Regions from separate parts of the Homo sapiens genome. Here regions 1, 3, 4 and 5 are each linked to region 2. The links are contacts of gene promoters, found by promoter capture Hi-C in blood cells and fetal thymus (Javierre and others, 2016). All regions are on one chromosome and are shown on one strand. Each heading gives the region's core, a stretch centred on a gene start or on the middle of the fragment in contact. The rest is flanking DNA. Distances are from core to core; before and after follow the strand shown.

Region 1 (2,737 bases), core at 168-2,667, 410 kb before region 2:
TTGACTGGAACAGTGCCTCATGCCTGTAATTTCAGCACTTTGGGAGGCCAAGGCAGGAGGATTGCTTGAGCCTAGGAGTTTGAGACCAGCCTGGCCAATATGGTGAAAGTCCATTTCTACTAAATATAAAAATAAAAATAAAATAAAGAATAAGGGACACTTTCACAAAGACCTGATGGAAGAGAGAGAAGAGGAAGAGCATTCCAGGCAGAGAGAACAGCAGGTGCAAAGGCCCGGAGATTGCACCCAAGAAATGGCAGAAAGGGGCCAGGCACGGTGGCTCACGCCTGTAATCCCAGCACTTTGGGAGGCCGAGGCGGGAGGATCACCTGAGGTCGAGAGTTCAAGACCAGCCTGGCCAACATGGTGAAACCCCGTCTCTACTAAAAATACAAAAATTAGCTGGGCATGGTAATGCATGCCTGTAATCCCAGCTACTACTCAGGAGGCTGAGGTGGGAGAGTCACTTGAACTCAGGAGGCCGATGTTGCAGTGAGCAGAGATTGCGCCATTGCACTCCAACCTGGGCGACAGAGCAAGGCTCAAAAAAAAAAAAAAAAAAAAGGCCAGGTGCGGTGGCTCACGCCTGTAATCCCAGCACTTGGGAGGCCAAGGCAGGTGGATCACGGGGTCAGGAGATCGAGACCATCCTGGCTAACACAGTGAAATTCCGTCTCTACTAAAAATACAAAAAAAAAAAAAAAAATTAGCCGGGCATGGTGGCGAGCGCCTGTAGCCCCAGCCACTCCAGAGACTGAGGCAGGAGAATGGCGTGAACCCGGAAGGCGGAGCTTGCAGTGAGCTGAGATCGCGCCACTGCACTCCAGCCTGGGTGACAGAGCGAGACTCTGTCTCAAAAAAAAAAAAAAAAAAAAAAAGAAATGGCAGAAATGTCTATGAGGCCGGAAGAGAGAAGGGGGAAGCAGGAGGAGGTAAGAAGTGTCAGGGCAAAGTGTGAAGGGTCCTGTGGGCCCGGAGGAGGACTTGGGTTTTACTCTGAGTCAGGCAGGAGCCATGGAGGGTTCTGGGCTGGAGATGGCCACATTTACTTCTGGACTCAGACACCAAGCAGGGGCTCACAAGGATCCGGGGGTAGGGTCCTCTCTTTGTCCCCGATCACTGACATGCCCCACCCCCCACAACAGAGATTGAGCAACCCCCCAGAACTGGGACGTGTGTATAACACCCGCTGCCTTTTACACTCTCAGCCTGGGGTGGCGGGGTGGCCTGGGGGCCCCCAAGCCAAGCTGTGGTCGGAGTTTCCCCACAGTGAGAATCAACCTCCACCTACCTTCCCACCCTCTCACCTCTGATGCCCAAGACCCTGAATCCAGCGAAGCTCACAGAACACACAAGAAGTCCAAGGAAGAGCCGAGGGTCCAGTGGGGCCTCTGAGCTAGAGACGGGGAGAGGGCAGTGGGACAGAAGGAGAGAGGAGGCTTGGTAACCACTCCCCAGCCCCCAGAGCCTGGGAGTGGAGCTGGGATGCTGGGCCCAGGAGCCCAAACTATAAATATTTAGCATTTCCCGAATGAGAAATGAGACAGAATTGCCAGACCCCCCTGCCCAGGCCACCAGAGCCTGATAACACAGGTCAGTGTCCTGGACATCCCTCCCTTTCCCCCACACCCTCCACTGCAGAGCCCAGAGCGTGGGAGGCTGCAGGCCCTGGGGCAGCCAGGCGTGATCCCAGCCCCAGACACGCACACACCACACATAGAAAGAGGAACATCACTGGGGACTTACCGTGTGTAGGGCTTGGCTCTAAACTCTCCACACCTTTTACGTATTTGATCCTTACAACCTGAGCTGGATTCTGTATGTACCCTCATTTTACAGCAGGGAAAACTGAGGCTCAGAGAGGGTAAGCAACTTGCCTGCGGTCACACAGCCAAAAAGAGACCAGGATGGGAGCCAGCCAAGGTAGCTTGACTCAGAAACTCACACATGTACACCACAGCTGTCACACACATATGGGCACATAACAGAGTGGACACAAACACACACACACACATTTGCACGCACGCACACATTAACACCCAGCGAAAGTCTGGGTGCAGTGGCTCATGCCTGAAAGCCAGCACTTTGGGAGGCCGGGGCAGGTGGATTACCTGAGGTCAGGAGTTCGAAACCATCCTTGCCAACATGCTAAAACCCCGTCTCTACTAACAATACAAAAATTAGCTGGGCATGGTGGCATGCGCCAGTAATCCCAGCTACGCGGGAGGCTGAGGCAGGAGAATTGCTTGAAGCCAGGAGGTGGAGGTTGCAGTAAGCCGAGATCGAGCAACCGCATGCACTCCAGCCTGGGCGACAAGACTGAAATTCCATCTCAAAAATAAATAAATAAATAAATAAATAAATAATAAATAAATAATAATAAAGTGAGGAATTAATTAATTAAAATAAAAAATAAATATAAAAGACACAGCTGTAAATTTTTAAATTGTGATAGAAACAATATATTCTTAAAGTGAAAACCCTACCTCAGTTACATGTGATTTATGTTTTTTGGATTAATCTGGATTTTATAATTAGAAATAAAAATGTAAGGCTGGGCGCGGTGGCTCACGCCTGTAATCCCAGCACTTTGGGAGGCCAAGGTGGGCAGATCACGAGGTCAGCAATTCGAGACCAGCCTGGCCAAGATGGTGAAACCCCGTCTCTACTAAAAATACAAAAATTTGCCGGGTGTGGTGGCCCATGCCTGTAATCCCAGCTACTCAGGAGGCTGAGG
Region 2 (2,827 bases), core at 317-2,816:
TTGATTGTGCCACTGTACTCCAGCCAGGACAACAGAGCAAGACTTTGTCTCAAACACACACACACAAACACACAAGCAGGGAGTTCCAGAGACGTAACAGTAAACACACAGAACGCACACAAACGCAACACACACAGAAAGAGACACACAAATACAGCGACACACTACAAGGGCAAAACACACAGTCACACACTATCAGGGAAACTAAAAAATACATCATACAGGAACAGAGTGACGCAGGCAGAAAAACACAGCGACCAAAATTCAGTCACACGAATACAGGGTCTCCCACCCAGTGGCACAGGCCACAATTTCACAACCTCCACTCACACTAGCCTGGGGCCCAGTGCACCACACTCCACACTCTTGTCTCACTGCATACAAAGCTTTTTCCTGCCAAAACCCCCTCATCCACCCAAAACCCCATGAGAAAGTTGCTCCTTGGCCAGGCACAGTGGCTTTCGCCTGTAATCCCAGCACTTTGGGAGGCCGAGGTGGGAGTATCACTTGAGCCCAGGAGTTCGACACCAGCTTGGGCAACATACTAAGACTTCATCTCTACAAAAAAATTTAAAAATTAGCCAGGTGTGGTGTTATGCCCCTATAGTCCCAGCTACTCAAGAGACTGAGGCGGGAGGATCACTTGAGCCTGGGAGGCCGAGGCTGCAGTGAGCCATGATCGCACCCCTGCTCTCCAGCCTGGGTGACAAGAGAGAAACTCCGTCTCAAAAAAAAAAAAAAAAAAAAAAGTTGATCCTATTCACTCATTTTACTAAGGCAGAGCCTGAGGACAGGAGAGAGAATCCACAAGAGGCAAACAGACTCTTACAGAGGGGCACACATGTCATTAAACTGTAATAACACTCCTCACCTGCCTCTGTGACCTTATTAATCCCCACTTCCTTTAGTCCTAATTTACAGATGAGAAAACTGAAGCTCAAAAGAAATGCTTCGTATCGAAGCAGGCGCAAAGGTTTCCATGCTCCCACACAAACATCCATGCACAAATAGTCCCCATGCAAGTCCAGATGAGAAAGCCAAGGCCTGGGGAGGGGAATGGATCTCTTTTGCACAAGGCAGGGATGCGGACATCCCAGAGAGCTTCAGTCACACACAGAGAATCAAGGCAGGCAAACATAGACAGGAAGTCGCTGGCTCACCCATGCTGGAGGTGGGGAGCCCAAATACAGGGAGACAGGGTTACACATGCTCTGAGGGGGAGGCCAACCCCATCCGCCCAGCTTGCCCGGCAGCAGGACTGAAGTATGGAAACTTGCAGTGGCCCGGCCAGGAGGGGGTGGCCAGGGGATTCCAGCCACCTTCACCCCGTATCCCAGGTCCTGCACCCAGCTGGGGAGCCCCCAGCTTCCCCCTCCCCAGAGGCCTCCAGGAAAAGTTCGGAGAACTCCCTGCAAGGAGTGGTGCGCCTTTTTAGACCGGGAAAGTGGCCGCCAGGGCGACCCCCTCCGGGTCAGGCCCAGCCCAGCGCCCCCAAAGGTCCAGTGCAGTCCACTCACTCTGCGCCCTGGTCGTGCGCCACCCGCAGTCGCGCTGCCTTGAACCGAGTGAGCGGACGCCGCTCCGGGGGCGGGGCTGGAGCTGGCAGGCGAGGGGGCGGGCCAGCGACGCAAAGGGCCGGCGGTCGCCAGCAGTTGCCCCCTCCCCTTGGGTCCCGGGCACTCAGCCCATGGCTGCCAGCCTGTGCCACTCGCCGCGGCACCGGAGCGCGCCCCGGCGGCGACTGGCACAGGCGAGCCCTCAGCTGCCCCCTCCGGGCCTGGGCTGTCCTCCCAGGGACGCTCCATCGCGGTGGGAGGACTCGGAGAGGCGGGAAAGGGAGGGTTCTGCAGCAGGGCGGTCGCAGCCTGAGCCTCTTCTCCCCAGCGGAGGGGTCTCCTCTGTCCTGGGTGTCCGGGCACTGCGCCCTCCCATTGCCCACCCACCTGTGAACTGAGCTTCCTGGGCTGCACCCCAAGGACGCCCCGTCGATGATTCGGAGGGGTCTTCAGTGGGTTGCTTAGCAGGAGTCTTCAGTGGGGGCCACCTTAGCCTGAGTCCTCTCCCACCAGCAGATAGGTTCCCGCTGCTCCCGGGCACAGGCCCCTCCCAATTTCCCGCTCCCGCCCCCGGCTCAGGGCGAGTGGGGGTGGGGCGGGCCCGGGCAGGATTGTGATGGGAACTTGCCGCTCCTCAGATAAGGAGGGTCTCTCCTGTCCCACCCCCTGGATTCCGTGTTCCCCCGACCGATTCTCTCCCACCCTTATCGCTGACGACAAAGTGATTTACTCATTAATGGTGTTTCTGGGCTGTGTCCTTAGCAGACAGTAAACCCCAGCAATGTAAGAATTTCTTTTTTTTTTTTTTTTTTGAGACAAGATCTTGCTCTGTGGCCCAGAGTGGAGTGCAGTGGCAACATCATAAGTCACTGCAGTCTCGACCTCCGCGGCTCAAGCCATCCTCCCATCTCAGCCGGCTGAACGTAGCTGCTGGGACTCCAGTCGCTTGCAACCATGCCCAGATAATGAATGAGTGTCTCCCTCACTTCCTCTGTATCTCTCTCAGGAGGATCTCAGAGTCTCTCGCCTGCGTGTCTCTTTGTCTCTGCGTGTCTCTTTGCCTCTGCGTGTCTCTTTGTTGCTGTCTGTGATGCTCTCCCACGCCTCTCCCAGGCCACTGCTCCTCCAACGACCAGTCCCGCTGGCCCCGAAACGCCCCCACCCCGACTTCCCAGGAACTTCCAGACGGTCCCAGCTCTTCCACCCTCAGATTCAGGAAGGGAGGCTGGGTCCCGCTGCTGCGACCTTCTCCAGGACCGTGCCCTTTGCCC
Region 3 (2,787 bases), core at 176-2,675, 510 kb before region 2:
CGTGGGAATGCGGCATAGTCCAATCAGGGATTAACCATATGGACAGGCACCTTCCTGGACTCCAAAGTAAGAAGTGTGCTGTGGTGTGTGTGTGTGTGTGTGTGTGTGTGTGTGTGTGTGTGTGTGTTGGGAGACTGAGCTCACCTTAGAAAGGGATTTCCAGGAGGACCTAGTCTAGGGTCTCTCAGATCAGGGAAGCCCCATCTCCAACACTTGAGAAGCTACGCCATCCCCTGACTCCCGAAGCGCCCCCCACTCTGAACCCTGAGGGGCGGGACAGGGCGCCCAGCCAGATGCGCGCAGCTGGGCGTGCGTCAGCGCTGACTCACCCATCCGGCGGCCCCCGGGACCCCTTGGGGGCTCCTGAGAAATTCCTCGGGAAAAACACCCAAGGCTCCAGCAGCTGGGGTGGGGAGGGGGGGAGCAACTTCCACTCCTGCCCCGCCCTGCGCCCCGCCCCGTCTCGCCCCTCACCGCGGCCCTCCCCGAAGCCCTGTCCATGGTGCTGATCGCGGCTCTGGGGACCGCGGGGTGGGGGAGGGGGCAACAGGGAGGGAGGGGAGGAGATGGGCGCTCGCCAATTTGGGGCAGAGGAGGAAAAGGGAGAATGAGGTGAAGCCATTTAAAGAGACGCAAAGGAAACTGTGGGTTCCCGAAGAGCACCCCCCAATACTTGTCCCCACCCACCTTCATCCTCATGGGCAATTATTTGCACCCAAAAATCATAACTACACCCCTCATAGCGGCACTCAGAGACACACAATCACACGCATAACCACTCACACGGTTACCCTCGAAAATCAGCACATAGACAAGAGCACAAGTGCATACTCACCTGTCGCAATACACACCGTCCCAGCACTGCCCTGTCACTCACAGTCACACTATCACCATCAACCTCCACACGCAAGCACATACGCAACTTCACTCCAAATGCACACACATGCTACACACACATACACACATGCACACACCTGCACATTGCATGCATTCCCACGCGCTCGCCAGAAAACGCACTCACACATCCCCACCCCCACCCCGAGCTGTCACACCCACAAATCACCCAGAGTCAGATACTCATGCGCCCACATCACACCGGGGCCGCACGCGGCGCCCACGCCCTTCCCCTCCACGCCCCTCCACCCCCCTCCACCCCTCGCTCTTTTAGAGCCTCTCTGAGTCGTGGACCCTGGGTCCCATCTCTTCCCTCCCGGCTCACCGGCCTGCGTCCCCGGCAGAAGCTGCAGCGCGGCCAGGAGCAGGCAGAGACCGGCCCGCGGCTGGCCCAGGTCCCGGCGGTTCCCCATCCCGGCGGGGCCCACGGGCAAGGCGGGGAACCAGTCGGGGCGGCTGCGGGGCGCGGCGACTTCTCGGGCTCGGTGCAGTCACTCGCGGCGGCCGCTCCTCTCAGGGTCCGCGGGAAACTGCCCGAGACCCCGCCCTGGCCTCGCCCTGCGCTCCAGCGCCTGGCCAGGCGGGGCTTTTTGGAGGGGGAGCGCTGACAGCTGGACTGGGAAGTTGGGAAACTTTGTGCTGAGGGCTGATTGGCTGGCTGGGGTGGAGCCCAGCGCCAGGAGCTGGGTTGTTCCTGCCCCACCCCACTGTGGAGGAGAAGGGTCACTCCCACCCAGCCCTAGAGTTCGAGGGTTCCAGTCTTACCCCAAACCTTTTCCGCCTAGCAGATCCCCTCAAAGGAGACCTTAACCTCATTCAAGACTTCAGCCTCCATCCAGGCCCTAGAATTAGGAGGAGGTGCAGCTTTATACCAAATCTTTTTTATTTTCTATTATTTTTACATTTTATTTTGGAGACAGGGTCTTGATCTGTCACCCAAGCTGGAGTGCAGTGGTGCAATCATAGCTCACTGCAGCCTCCAACTCCTGCGTTCAAGCCATCCACCTGCCTCAGCCTCCTGAGAAGCAGGTACCACAGGCACACACTGCCACACCCAGCTAATTTTAAAATATGTATATTTTGTAGAGACCGGGATCTTGCTATGCTGCCCAGGCCGGTCTTGAACTTCTGGTCTCAAGCGATCCTCCGGCCTTGCCCTCCCAAAGCGCTGGAGTTACAGGCATGAGCCACCGCCCCTGGCACCAAGTCCTTTCTGCCTCACTCAGGCCCCCAACTGGGGTCCCAACCTCACCCCGAACTCTCACTCACCTACCTGCTTTATCCTCAGTCCCTCAGCTGCACAATAGGAGGTACCAGCCTCAGCCCCAAAGCCTTTCCTTCAAGTCCCTAACGGGTCCTCATCCCACCTCAAATCTCACCCCAGATCCCAAAATGGGGTCCCCAGCCTTACTCCAAACCTTCATCTGTCCACTCAAATCCCTAAGTCACGTGTCCTGGTCCCAAATTCTCACCACAGATCCCAAAACACAGTTTTCACTTTCCCCAAATTCTTGATTCCTCAAATAAAGGGTCTCATCTCCATCCCTAACCCTCATCTCCCCCCGCCCCAACTCAGGTCTCCAGTGGATGCCCCGGCCTCAATCCCAAATCCCCACCAAATGAGGGAGTCTGAGCTGGGTGCGGTGGCTCATGCCTGTAATCCCAGCATTTTGAGAGGCTGGGGCGGGCAGATCGCTTGAGTCCAGGAGTTAGAGATCAGCTGGCCAACATGGCGAAACCCCATCTCTACTAAAAATACAAAAATTAGCCAGGCATTGTGACTGGCGCCTGTAGTCCCAGCTACTTGGGAGGCTGAGGTGGGAGGATCACTTGAACACGGGAGGTGGAGGTTGCAGTGAGCTGAGGTTGTGCCACTGCGATCCAGCCTGGACA
Region 4 (2,770 bases), core at 1-2,500, 400 kb before region 2:
TGGGGAAGAAGAGCCTCACCTTCCTCCTTGCGACAGCCTTTGAAGCCTTCCGGGTCTCAATCCTGAAGGTGCGGACAATCTGAGGATGGGAGGGGAGAAGGGTCAGGCTCCTGGGACCAAGGGATCTCCTTTATCAACCTCCTCAACACACCCCACCCCATTCCGGTCTATGGGCCCCCAAGCACAAGGGTCCCCACTCCCTGCACCCCCCACCCTCACCTTGAACTTCTTGCCATCCTCATCTATCTTGTACTCTGTCACTGTCTTTATGTTTCCGTTGATGACCTCCTTGGGAGGCGGCAGTGGAGCTGGCAGAAGGGGAAAAACAGAGAAAGACTGAGCCCTGGGTCATGGGGATCAGGAGCGGCAGGGCTGGAGGGAGAGGCAGCCCGGACACCGAGTGGCAGTCCTCACTCACCTCCCGGCAGTCCTCACTCACCTCCCGGCAGTAGCTCTGGCTCTGGGCTGGTGTCACCTGTGGCCAGAGGGATCCCCTTGAGGAGCTCGCTGGTGACACATTTGTCTGCAAAAGGCAGCGTAGGAAGGAGGAGTCAGCTCCAGGGGCAGGAGCTCCCCAGCTGCGATGGAAGGGCTTTTGGGATGACGCCTACAGCAAAAGCGGAGAAAGGCAGGCCAAGGGCAGAGGGCTGGCCAGGCAACGCACTGGGATGGCCCTGTGGGGACTCGGAGTGGCAAGGATGGGAGATCCCTCGTAGGAAGGTGGGTGCCAGGCCATGAAGCCAACCAGGCGCCAGTAGAGAAACAGGAGACGGGAGATTACAACTTCCTCCCTGGAGGGGAACAGCTGGGAGGCAGTGGCATGGGAGGAAGAGGGACCCGCCGGGGAACACCTGGAGTTGGCAACAGGCGGGTCCCAAGGAGGATGGCGCGGGGCAGGGGCAGACCGTGACGGGGTACACGGTGCCAGACTGGGAGATGGAAGCAGGCGGCAGTCACACGGCTTGGGCCTGGCCGCGAATACCCCGGGCGACCGTGTACACTTACCGTCCTCCCCCTCCTCCTCCACCTGGTCGGCCCAACTGGGCTTCGAACTGCGGAAACAAATGTGTGGGGAACGAAGATTAAGTCAGCCAGGCCCGGCTCCCGCAGCCTCGGCGTACCCAGGCCCCATAATACTTCCCAGAGCACCCCAACCGCTTCCCGTGCCCCTTTCCGCGATCGCCGACTCACTCAAAGTCTCCAGTAGGCATCGCAAAAAGTATTCTCCACGCAGCCCAAGCCCGGCCAGAGAGCGGAAGCGGGCGAAAACGAGACTTCCGGTGCCGCCGTCGCCGCCTAGAGGGGCCCAGCCGCGGCACCCACAGCGACACCTGCGGACGGAGGTGGAGGCGCACGCGGCTGTGTATGCTACTGGGCGCTGCTGGTACCAGAGTAGGGCCAGCGGGGGCAGAGGCTGATTTCAGGGCTGGTCCTATTAACCTTTAAAATTAAAATAGGCCAGGCGAGGTGGCTCAAGCCTGTAATCCTCGCACTTTGGGAGGTCGAGGCGGGCGGATCACCTGAGGTAAGGAGTTCGAGACCAGCTTGGCCAACGTGGCGAAACCCCGTCACTACTAAAAACACAAAAATTAACTGGGCGTGGTAGTGCGTGCCTGCAGTTCCAGCTACTCGGGAGGCTGAGGCAGGAGAATCGCTTGAACCCGGGAGGCGGAGGTTGCAGTGAGCCGAGATCGCGCCACTGCACTCCAGCCTGGCGACAGAGCGAGACACCGTCTCAAAAAAAAAAAAAAAAAAAAAATTAGCCAGGCGTGGTGGTGGGCACCTGTAATCCCAGCTACTCGGGAGGCTGAGGCGGGAGAATCGCTTGAACCCAGGAGGCGGAGGCTGCAGTGAGCCGAGATCGCACCACTGCACTCCAGCCTGGGGCTGCAGAGTGAGACTCCGTCTCAGAAAAATAAGTAAAATTAAAATAAATAATAATAATCATAAAGCTCACTTATTGAGTGCTTATTGTATATGAAGCATGGTGAGGAGGATATTACTTCCATTTTACAGCTGAAGAAACTGAGGCTCAGACTGGGTGCAGTGGCGCCTGCCTGTAATCCCGCACTTTGGGAGACCAAGGCGTGGGGATGGCTTGAGGCCAGGAGTTTGAGACAAGCCTGGGCAACATAGTGAGACCCCTGTCTCTAAAAAAGAAAAAAAGAAAAAGAAAGAAAAAAGAAACCAAAGTTCGGGGAAAACAATCCTTTTGCTTAAACTGTTCCTTGTCTTCTTTCCCGATCCCAATGATTCAGATGCCAAGTGGCCTCCCCTCAGCCACTCCCTCTTCTTTTCTTTGTAGCATTCTTGGCTTTCCGGTATAATTTTGTGCATTTACTTGTTTATTGCTCAGCTCCTTGCTCTAAGCACAACCGTCCTCAGTCGAAGTGATTCATGATGACTCCCCAGGGGAAAAAACTGGTCCTCAGGGAGGAAAAAAATCTTAGATATTGTGGTCTTCCAAAGCCAGCTCTATCAGACAGCATTTATCCCTAAGTATTTAGTTTCTGCCTTTAGGGAGATATTAAATGTAATTAAATTGAAATTAATTTAGTTGATGTAAATTCAATTTTAGGATAATTCGGGTTTTCTCCTAAGAAGGGTGATAATGAACAAAAAACGTTTGACAATGTCGGACGCAGTGGCTCACGCCTGTAATCCCAGCACTTTGAGAGGCCAAGATGGGCAGATCTCTTGAAGTCAGGAGTTCGAGACCAGCCTGGGCAATATGGCGAAACCCCGTCTTTACTAAAAATACAAAAATTAG
Region 5 (2,765 bases), core at 42-2,541, 350 kb after region 2:
GGGCGGATCACCTGAAGTCAGGAGTTCAAGACCAGCCTGACCAACATGGTGAAACCTCGTCTCTACTAAAAATAAAAAATTAGCTGGGCGTGGTAGAGCATGCCTGTAGTCCCAGCTACTCGGGAGGCTGAGGCAGGAGAATCACTTGAACCCGGGAGGCGGAGGTTGCGGTGAGCTGAGATCGAGCCATTGCACTCCAGCCTGGGAGACAGAGCGAGACTCCGTCTCAAAGAAAAAAAAAAAAAAAAAAAAGGAATGAGGCGTAAATGAGGTCTAGGGAAGAGTTAAAGCTGGAGTGCTAGGAAGTGGCCCAAGCTCACTGGGTCGCCCAAAAGAGATGGGGCCACCCAAAATGAAGGGGGATGCAGAGAGAAGACGGGTTTGTGTGGCGGGAGAGGGGCCCTGCGCCGGGCCAGGCTGGACTCAGCATCGTTGGAGGAGGGGCTGAGAGAGGAGGGGGTCAAAGGATATCTTGTGCGAAAGGAGACAGTCAAACATTAAGGATTAAGAAGGCAATGTGGGCAGAGATGATGGGGAAGGGAGGAGGAGCGGTCGAATGTCGGGGAGGGGTCCTTTCAACCGGGCTCAGGTTGCTCCTGGAGGCCAGGGCTCATCGGAAATCGTCGGTGCGGGGGCGGTGGGGGGAAGGGTTGGGGGCGAGGCCCGGGCGCTGGCCACGCCCTTTCCCCCGCCCATTCCCCAGAGCGGGGCGGCTGACAAAGCGAGTCCGGGTGGGAGGGCGCGGGCAGGCACGGGGGCGGGGCCTCGTCGCGGCTGGGCCACGCCTCCCTGAGGGCTGCCTCACAAAGCCGGGCGGGCCCGGGGGGGTGGGGCCCAGTCTCAGGGGCGTGTCCAGGTCGGGGCAGGGAAGCCGCATCACGACGCGCGGCTGCTTGTGTGGGGCGGGGTACAGGGCGTGTCCACGCGGCCGAGCACCGCCCCCGCCGTCCCCGCACCGCCTCACTCGAAAGCAGCCGTTAATGAGGCGCCGGCCTGGGGGCGGGGCCCAGGCCTCCGAGGGGCGTGCCCGCGCGCCCGAGCACCGCCCCCGACGTACCCTCCCGCCCCGCAGTTCCCGGGCGGTGGAGCCACCTCACAAAGCGGCGACCGTTCTCGCGGGGCGGGGCGTAGCCGGTCCCGCCCCACGGGGTGCCCTCTCGTTCGCTCGCTAGCTCCCCGCGCCCAGGACGGCCGGCAGAGGGCGCTGCGCCACGGGGCCGGGCCGCGGCGACGGTGGCGGCGGCGGCGGCGAGGCGGCGCGTGGCCGGCAGGCGGCGCTGCCCGGCTCGGCCTCGGCCTGCACGGCGGCTGCGGCGGCGGTAGCGGCAGCGGCGGCGGCGGCGGCGGCGGCGGCGGCGGCGGCGGCGGCGGCGGCGGCAGCGGCGGCGGCCTGGGCCCGGGCGCAGCGGCGGCGGCGGCGGGGCCTGGAGCCGGATCTAAGATGGCAGCGGCGGCGGCGGCGGTGGGGCCGGGCGCGGGCGGCGCGGGGTCGGCGGTCCCGGGCGGCGCGGGGCCCTGCGCTACCGTGTCGGTGTTCCCCGGCGCCCGCCTCCTCACCATCGGCGACGCGAACGGCGAGATCCAGCGGCACGCGGAGCAGCAGGCGCTGCGCCTCGAGGTGCGCGCCGGCCCGGACTCGGCGGGCATCGCCCTCTACAGCCGTGAGTACGGGGCCCCGGGGCAGGCGCAGGGCCGGGGCTGCTCACGAGGCCGGCCCGGGGCGGGGGCCGGCGGGGAGGGGCCCTGAGCGCGGGGGCCTGGCGTGGGGTCCCCGGGACTGAGCCGGTGGCCTGCAGGGAGCGACCGTGGAGGGCCGGTGCCAGGGGACAGACAGAGAAAAGAGGGCGTGCGTGGTGGCCGGAGGGGCAAGGTGCCCAGAGTGAGCAAGGGAGCGCGAAATGGGGAGTGAAGGGCCTGAGATTTGGGAGGGGTGGGTGAGCAGGAAGTGGGGGGCTCTGAGTGGAAGGGGAATTTGGAGGACGCCAGGCGTGGTGGGCTTAAGCGTGGGGGAGGGAGGTCCGGGGTGCGGGAGAGGTGGGCGTCTCGGGGGCGGGCGTGGCCGCCTCTGCAGGGAGGAGGGTGGGGCGTGGGCGGCCCGGGATCCCTCTGGGGACCCCCTGGATAGCTCAGGACGGTTGGAAAGTGTTTGCTGGTCTGGGGCGCCCGCGAGTACCGAGTTCCACCGCTGTGCGAGGTGTGGCGTTCAGGACCCCCGAATGGGAAACTTCAGGATCTGGGGAGAGGGCCCATGCGGGGACGGTGGGAGCCGCAGGGTGAGCTCCTCGTGGAAACGTGGACGGGACGGGCCCCTTCCTGATGCCGGGCTTCGAAGTAAGAGCTAACAGCCTCCTCCCATCTTCTTTTGGGGGATGTGAGAAGCTGGTTACATTTTCCGAAGCTGCTTTCAAAACTGACATTTCACTGGGGGGAAAAGAAAATCACAAATGCGTTTGCCAGCACCCCCCACCCCCGCTCCCAGTCTTTGTAGTTCATTCTTCTTCTTGTTACTCCTTCTTATCTCTTCTCTTTGATTCCTTGTTCACATTTTGCTACTCTGTGTCATTTGGCTTTGTCTTTCAGGGCTTCTTGCACTGATGCCCTGGGGAACCCCTCAGGAGGCCTCTAGCTAGCTTGGGTCCTGTGTGAATTTTTTGCCACTTTGGAAACGGCCCGATTAAAGGAAAGCCCGAGGAGCAGTCCGTTCACACTGGGTTTTCCCTGCACCTCGACTTTGAAAACGTGGACTAAAGGAGTTGTGTCTGCTG

What was found. The method cuts DNA at HindIII sites, captures the fragments that hold promoters and counts their contacts. A CHiCAGO score of 5 or more calls a contact.
Region 1: a contact is called between the fragment with the promoter of ANGPTL6 here and the fragment with the promoter of S1PR5 in region 2, in 3 of 17 cell types (total CD4 T cells, non-activated CD4 T cells and activated CD4 T cells). The highest score is 10.9, in total CD4 T cells.
Region 3: a contact is called between the fragment with the promoter of COL5A3 here and the fragment with the promoter of S1PR5 in region 2, in 6 of 17 cell types (naive B cells, fetal thymus, total B cells and 3 more). The highest score is 8.3, in naive B cells.
Region 4: the fragment with the promoter of EIF3G here is called in contact with the fragment with the promoter of S1PR5 in region 2 in 8 of 17 cell types (activated CD4 T cells, naive CD8 T cells, naive CD4 T cells and 5 more); the score reaches 10.7 in activated CD4 T cells.
Region 5: the fragment with the promoter of CARM1 here is called in contact with the fragment with the promoter of S1PR5 in region 2 in 1 of 17 cell types (neutrophils); the score reaches 10.6 in neutrophils.

What each region holds. Positions count from the first base shown.
Region 1 is chr19:10,101,261-10,103,997 of GRCh38, forward strand. It overlaps ANGPTL6 (angiopoietin like 6), which reads right to left and starts at 1,418. Exons shown (of 6, transcript NM_031917.3): 1 at 1,308-1,418. RefSeq lists enhancers at 1,428-1,477, 1,548-1,597. The HindIII fragment of the contact is 11,381 bases long and covers 1-2,737 here.
Region 2 is chr19:10,515,881-10,518,707 of GRCh38, forward strand. It overlaps S1PR5 (sphingosine-1-phosphate receptor 5), which reads right to left and starts at 1,567. Exons shown (of 2, transcript NM_030760.5): 1 at 1,518-1,567. RefSeq lists an enhancer at 1-44. The HindIII fragment of the contact is 9,669 bases long and covers 385-2,827 here.
Region 3 is chr19:10,009,079-10,011,865 of GRCh38, forward strand. It overlaps COL5A3 (collagen type V alpha 3 chain), which reads right to left and starts at 1,426. Exons shown (of 67, transcript NM_015719.4): 1 at 1,220-1,426. The coding sequence starts at 1,307. The HindIII fragment of the contact is 8,603 bases long and covers 1-2,787 here.
Region 4 is chr19:10,118,649-10,121,418 of GRCh38, forward strand. EIF3G (eukaryotic translation initiation factor 3 subunit G) reads right to left here and starts at 1,251. Exons shown (of 11, transcript NM_003755.5): 1 at 1,192-1,251; 2 at 1,006-1,052; 3 at 440-523; 4 at 220-308; 5 at 20-79. The coding sequence starts at 1,211. RefSeq lists enhancers at 1-753, 754-1,509. The HindIII fragment of the contact is 4,736 bases long and covers 1-2,770 here.
Region 5 is chr19:10,870,262-10,873,026 of GRCh38, forward strand. It overlaps CARM1 (coactivator associated arginine methyltransferase 1), which reads left to right and starts at 1,292. Exons shown (of 16, transcript NM_199141.2): 1 at 1,292-1,661. The coding sequence starts at 1,442. RefSeq lists silencers at 552-1,341, 1,472-1,521, 1,612-1,821 and an enhancer at 2,562-2,741. The HindIII fragment of the contact is 21,723 bases long and covers 1-2,765 here.